Linked DNA regions of Homo sapiens: region 1 is linked to region 2. Evidence: promoter capture Hi-C in human tissues and cell types (Jung and others, 2019). All regions are on one chromosome and are shown on one strand. Each heading gives the region's core, a stretch centred on a gene start or on the middle of the fragment in contact. The rest is flanking DNA. Distances are from core to core; before and after follow the strand shown.

What was found. The method cuts DNA at HindIII sites, captures the fragments that hold promoters and counts their contacts. A contact is called where the count stands out against the background at its distance.
Region 1: the fragment with the promoter of TXN2 here is called in contact with a fragment that was not itself captured in region 2 in 1 of the 25 tissues and cell types used here (neural progenitor cells).

The regions. Positions count from the first base shown.
Region 1 is chr22:36,479,826-36,483,246 of GRCh38, reverse strand. It overlaps TXN2 (thioredoxin 2), which reads left to right and starts at 1,607. Exons shown (of 4, transcript NM_012473.4): 1 at 1,607-1,683; 2 at 2,410-2,672. The coding sequence starts at 2,410. RefSeq lists an enhancer at 231-1,177. The HindIII fragment of the contact is 22,621 bases long and covers 1-3,421 here.
Region 2 is chr22:35,640,486-35,643,853 of GRCh38, reverse strand. No RefSeq gene overlaps it. Among named protein-coding and RNA genes, the nearest start is that of APOL6, 6.3 kb to the left of the region's middle. The HindIII fragment of the contact is 6,172 bases long and covers 1-3,368 here.

The DNA of each region.
Region 1 (3,421 bases), core at 358-2,857, 840 kb before region 2:
ACTTTGGGAGGCCCAGGTGGGCAGATCATGAGGTCAATAGATCGAGACCATCCTAGCCAACATGGTGAAACTCCGTCTCTACTAAAAATATAAAAATTAGCTAGGCGTGGTGAGGCACGCCTGTAGTCCCAGCTACTGGGGAGGCAGAGGGAGAAGAATCCCTTGAACCCAGGAGGCAGAGGTTGCAGTGAGCCGAGATCGCGCCACTGCACTCCAGCCTGGGCAACAAGAGCGAGACTCTGTCTCAAAAAAAAAAAAAAAAAAAAAAAAAACTTTGATCAACAATTTGGAAACTGCCTGTTCTTTTAAAAACGCTCTTTCAGCTGCTGCTAATCCGAGTGTATATTCAGGACAACTTGAATCTCTGCTCCGAGTTGCAGTCTTCGAACTTGACCCAAAAAAACTCCCTGCTTAAATTAGGCTCGCCTCAGTTTTCATTTGTTTTCCTTTAGGCGGACACAGACGAGGGCCACTTAAAGGATGGCCCCTAAACTCCCGGTTGAGTTCTTTTACATATAAAGGGCATCATGCCTTTGAGGAGCTTAGCTTTACATATTAAATGGAGAAACAGAACCTGTCAACATCTGTAGGAAGTGGACAGCGCCAGTTATAAACAGGAGGCCAGGCAAGGTGGCTCACGCCTGTAATCCCAGCACTTTGGGAGGCTGAAGCGGGCGGATCACTTGAGCTCAGGAGTTCCAGACCAGCCTGGCCAACATGGCGAAACTCCGTCTCTACTAAAAATACAAAAATCAGCCCGGCGTGGTGGCGCGCGCCTGTAATCCCAGCTACCTGGGAGGCTGAGGCAGGAAAATCACTTGAACCCGGGATTTGGATGTTGCAGTGAGCGGAGATCACGCCACTGCACTGTAGCCTGGGAGACAGAGCGAGACTCTGTCATTAATAAATAAATATATGTAAATAAAATAAAGCAACAAGAGTTTGCAAAATCCAAAACCACGGGGACTTCTCAACTGCCTTTTCTCCCTTAAGTACCCTCCATTGCTACCCCTGCTCCATCACCTCCTCTTCCGGTCCCTCCTCTAGGGCCCGCCCACCCCTTCCGTTTCCGCCCCGCCCCGCCCCCGCCTTCGCCCAGACCAGGGCCCGCCCGCCTCTTCCAATCCGTTCCCCGACGGCCTGCCCATTGCTTCCGGTCCGTAGCTGAGGCCCCGCCCCTTCAACTGTGCCTCAGCCCGCCATTCCCATTGGCGGAAAATCCCAGACGCCCCTCAAATTGGAGAGGGACAGATGGGCGCTGTGGCTCACGCCCGTAATCACAACCCTCTGAGAAGCCGAGGCGGGCGGATCACGAGGTCAAAAGATCGAGACCGTCCTGGCCAACGTGGTGAAACCCCGTCTCTACTAAAAATAAAAAAATTAGCTGGGCGTGGTGGCGCGCGCCTCTAGTCGGGAGGCTGAGGCAGGAGAATCGCTTGAACCCGGAAGGCGGAGGTTGCAGTGAGCCGAGATCGCGCCACTGCACCCCAGCCTGGCAACAGAGCGAGACTCTGGCTCAAAAAAAAAAAAAAAAAAAAAAAAAATTGGAGAGGGACGCTCTTCCGCCTGCCTGTACCCGGAAGTGACGTTATGTACGTCCCCCCCCGAGGAAGTGACGACAGGCGTGCCCTTGACAGGCAGGGAGGGCTAGGCTGTGCATCCCTCCGCTCGCATTGCAGGGAGGTAGGAGCCCTGTGGGGGTGGCTCGAGGTGGTGTCGCGGCTGAGGCATGCCGCGAGCGCGTTCCTGCGCAGGCTGGCGGCCGGGCGGGCGGGGGGATCTAGCTCGCCGGAGAGCCAGGGTCCCTGGTGATGTCCGATTTTTCCCAGTTCCCTCCACACATGTCCCTTCTTTATTGGTTCCCTCCAGTACATGTCTCTTCGTTTTTGGTTCCTCTCACACTCTTAGTTCCTCCTTGAATTGTTGCGTTTCATCTTTTCAGACGACCCTGGGTTCCAGTGTTGGCTGTCATTTAATAGCGGGGTTACTTTGGGCATGTCACTTAACTTACTTGAGCCTCGTATTCCTTCCCTTACTCGCAGTGTGGGCAGTACAATAGCAACTTCCTGGAAGTTGCTGTAGGAAGACCAATAATGTGTGTAAGGTACTTGGTCCTTACATACATTATTAAATCTGTTGGTTTCTTCCTCCCATTCTTCCGTTATAATCTAAATCCCGATTTCTTTTTGGTTGTGAAGCCAGTTTTCCTGTCCTTCTGGTTTGCCTAGCTGTTCCTTCCCTTTGATTCTCATTGCTTCCTCACTTCCACGCTACAAATCTTACATATGATTTCCTTGCATTTTGCTTCCAACTCTGCCTCTTCCTGAGCCCTGAGTACTCCCCAAATCTTTTTCTAGTGTGTCGACTTCCTTTTGTGTGCCCCAGTTCTTCTGCCTCTTTCCCTCACAGATGGCTCAGCGACTTCTTCTGAGGAGGTTCCTGGCCTCTGTCATCTCCAGGAAGCCCTCTCAGGGTCAGTGGCCACCCCTCACTTCCAGAGCCCTGCAGACCCCACAATGCAGTCCTGGTGGCCTGACTGTAACACCCAACCCAGCCCGGACAATATACACCACGAGGATCTCCTTGACAACCTTTAATATCCAGGATGGACCTGACTTTCAAGACCGAGTGGTCAACAGTGAGACACCAGTGGTTGTGGATTTCCACGCACAGTGAGTATTGGGGGTCCACAGAAGACTAGGGTCCTACTTGTTCAAGTATTTATTGAATGCCTGCTGTGTCCCACGGCCATGTTCTATGCTGCTCATATGTAGACTCAATATACAGACTGGTCAGGCCCAGTCCCTGCCCTCAAGGGGAATGCAGTCTGGTGGAAGACAGACAAGTGAACAGTCTGCAAAGCTGACTGTTAGTGCTGGGAAACACATGTTCTGTTTCTCAATCCCCAGAAAGCTCAGCGTCATCTTTAGCATGGACCAGAGTTGGAAAAATATGACTGTCACCTTGCTTTTGGTGTATACCAGTTCCTGGCCCTGCAGATAAGCTGATGTTAACATCCTGCCATGAAAACCGCAAGAAGGGCTGGCAAAAAGTTATCAGTGTCGGCCGGGTGCGGTGGCTCATGCCTGTAATCCCAGCACTTTGGGAGGCCAAGGCGGGCAGATCACCTGAGGTCAGGAGTTCAAGACCAGCCTGGCCAACATGGTGATACCCTGTCTCTATTAAAAATACAAAATTAGCTAGGCGTGGTGGTGTGTGCCTGTAATCCCAGCTACTCGGGAGGCTGAGGCAGGAGAATCACTTGAACCTAAGAGGTAGTGTTTGTAGTGAGCTGAAGATCGCGCCATTACACTCCAGCCTGGGCAAAAAGAGTGAAATTCCATCTCAAAAAAAAAAAAAAAAAGTTATCGGTGTCACTACCGTGGTGCCCAAGCATACAGGGCATAGGAAGGAGTTTCCT
Region 2 (3,368 bases), core at 545-3,044:
AAAAAATGCAAAAATTAGCCGGGTGTGGTGGTGCGCCTATGGTCCTAGAGACTGGTGTGTGTGTTGAGGGGATGGGGGATGGGGGGTGCTGAGGTGGGAGGATCACTTGAGCCCAGGAGGTTGAGCCTGCAGTGAGCTGTGATCGAGATTGTGCCACTGCACTCCAGCCTGGGAGACAGACCATCTCAAAAAAAAAAAAAAAGACAGACAGAAAGAAAGAAAATGAAATGAGATAAAGTAAAAAATATCAGAGTATATCATACATAATAAGGGTATAAGTAGTGTTTCATGGAAATTATGTCCATATAGTGATGATGCACACACTTACGTGTGTGTGTGTGTGTGTGTGTGTGTTATGGATTGCACTGTGAAATGGGTCACAGATAGAATGCTCGAGAGCTACTGACCTGTTCACAGAATCAAAGGAAAACCCAGAAGGTTTCAGGCAGCTCCAGGTTCAGGGACCAGGAGCCCCACTGTAGCTCTCTCGCTGTCTCTCTCTCTCTTTCTCTCTCTCTCTTCCAGCCTCATTCTGTCCCACTACAGGTGGGCTTTTTCCATAACAGAAAGAAGAGAATTTCAAGTCTATTACAATTCATGTCCTTCTAGTTCCTGGATTGGAGATGCAAGAGCATTTTCCCCACCAGATCCAGTAAGAAAATTCTTTGGAAAGGTCTCTCTAGGTTAACCTGTGTTCCATATCCCACTGGTCTCTGTGGCTGGGGTTATTTGGTTCTCTGATCCCTCAGTCCAGGTTACATTACCTCTCCGATAACAAAAGCAGTATTCTAGTATCCAGAAAGTCCTCACTGAGCCATGAGGTTGGAGGGAGGTAAAAAGGGTACCCAATAAAAGGGGTGCTCTTCTGTAGGAGTCAGCTGGCGAATGCCCTCTCTGGGGGAGGGGGTGTCAGGTATTAAAGGGCTGGCTACCTCTGATGTGGCCCAGAGACCCCCGATAGCGTTTTGTGAAGTGGCATGTTCCTGGCAGCTGGTCTTCCAAGGTGGGAGCCTCTGGGTGCCCTGAGTACCCTGGCTTAGCAGCCACTCTGCTCCAGCTAGAAGAATCCATGTTAGGATTTCCTATAACCTCTCTAGGCTTGGGCTTCCCATCACTCCACATGCATCACAGAGAATGGGCCCCTCTGGCAATTGCCCTCCACGACCATCGGGACTCCCTCTTTGCTGGGCTGAAGATGGTGTTATCTCCCCCAGAGGCTTTGTGTCTGTACATAGGGAACTGCTGGACATGCTCCAGGAAGCCTCACTGTGGCCAAGGATGAAAGTCCACAGGCCATCTGAATCTGTGGCTCCAGGAAGCCTTGCTGTGGCCAGGGATGAAAGTCCACCAGGCCACTGAGGAGCAGCAGACCTAGTTCTGCTCCCACTGTGGCTATGGACATGCTGTTTCCCCTGCAAGTGTGGGCAGCTGGGCTCTGGCTGGCTAGCCAGGGATCCCCTGTGACCTCATGATGCTCCAGAAGGGAGTGTCTTCCAGCAGGAGGAGCCTCAGCCTTCAGGAATGAGTGTGGGACAGGGCAGGCTCCCCTTGAAACACCAGGGCCCCTCCCTCTCTAAGCCTCCATTTTCACATCTGCAAAACAAGGGGATCTCCCTGGATAAGTCAAGGTCCTTTTCTTGGCTGTGATCCTATGACCCTTAGAATCTACCATTCTGTGATTCTTGCTGAGATGCTATGATTCAAAGAGTATTTTGCATCTCTGTCGCTTTGTATCCAAGTCTTATTTGCTCCCCAGCCCTGTGGATTGTTTTTTCAGACTGCCCCTTGCATCCCAAGAAGGCCAATCACAAAAAATATACATTGGTTTTGACACAGGATTTTTTCTTGGTCACTTTGCAAGCCGGGGACCTCTGGCCGGCAATGCCCCACCTGGGCCTCTCTTGGCCATGCTACCTGCTGCATGAGATGGCCTGCTCAGTCGGCCCACCGTGGTTGAGTCTGGCTTGTGTACCAGTTCCCGAGTTCTTGTCCTGCACCCAAGAAGAGTGAGGATACACTGACAATTGAAGAGTGAGCAAGGTGGGGAGTTTTATTGAGTGATGAAACAGCTTTCAGTGGAGAGGTGACACGTGGGTGGCCCCCCTATCCAAAGGCAGGAAAGTTCCTCCACTGTGGCTGAGTCTGGTCTTTTATAGGCTTAGAATGGGGGAGGGGCAGGCTGTAGGTAGTATTAGAAAAGGCAACATTCCACTGCTACAAAGCATTATTCAGAAAGAATCAATCGGGAAAGGGTGGGCAAACAGGAACAGATGTTCTCACTCTGGGTTGAGGGTTTCATCCAGGACCAGAAGTCTGGTCTTTCAGCCTTCAGGCTGTGTTTTGGCTTGAAGGTAGGGTTTCACCAAGGACCTGCCCCATCTGCCTGGTCCTTTGGCTGCCTCCTGTTGCTCTCAGTGTCTTCCCTCACTCTCATCCTGGCCCCCTGCCTTATCTAAGGGACTTAGCTTCAGTGGCAATGAGCTTAAGCTCTCCCACCTCTCTACCCATTGCTAGGTGACATCAGAGCAGGACCTACATCTTTTCTCCTTGGCAGTTAGCACCTAGCACAGTGAACCTTTGTTGACTCCGAGGGACCTAAATTTCACAGCTCATAGTAGGTCTGGTTCAAATATAATGAGTTGGAGAAAATCGCATGCACCAGAATCCCAGAGAGGGTGGGGGCCTGTGGAGGGGTGGGGCTTGGCAGCTAAACTGAGCAGTCCTCCATGAGCAAAGCAGGTAGGACAGAACACAAGCTCCAGTCCTTAGGAGAAGCAGTTTTTGGGGCAAGAGGGCAAACCATAGCATCTGACAATGGAGGAGGTGTGGAGCCGGGAAGAGGCCAAATGGGCCAGAAAGCACTGGCAAGTTGTGGGACCAGGGCAGAAGCCACAAAGCAAATGGGGTTTTATTTGGTTGTTGCTGCCTGGCATCCAGTCAGGATGGTCTCCCTATGGCCCTGGGATGCTGCCAGCTCCTTCTGACTGTGGGCCTGGATACTCTACTGTGGCCCTGAAGAAGGGCTGGTTAGGGTTAGGCTCAAGGCAGTGCCTGGTGACAGCCACATCTGGGCTGCCAGGAGGTCCCACACGTTTCTGCATTTAAGGTGAAGATTATTTTTCTTTAAGTCTCTAAAATTCTTAAAGCTTAGATTCCAAAATCCCATGGGAAAGAAGGCAAGTATTTGACTTGACACAGAACTACTCAAATTCCTATCTTATCTTGTGCTGTGCAGAGCTCAAGGGTTACTGTCTAAGGACAAGGCAAATTTGCAGAGAGGCCAGGAAGTCTTCTGAATTAAGGGGGAAGAAGTCGGCTGGGTGCGGTGGGTCACACCTGTAATCCCAGCACTTTGGGAGGCCAAGGAG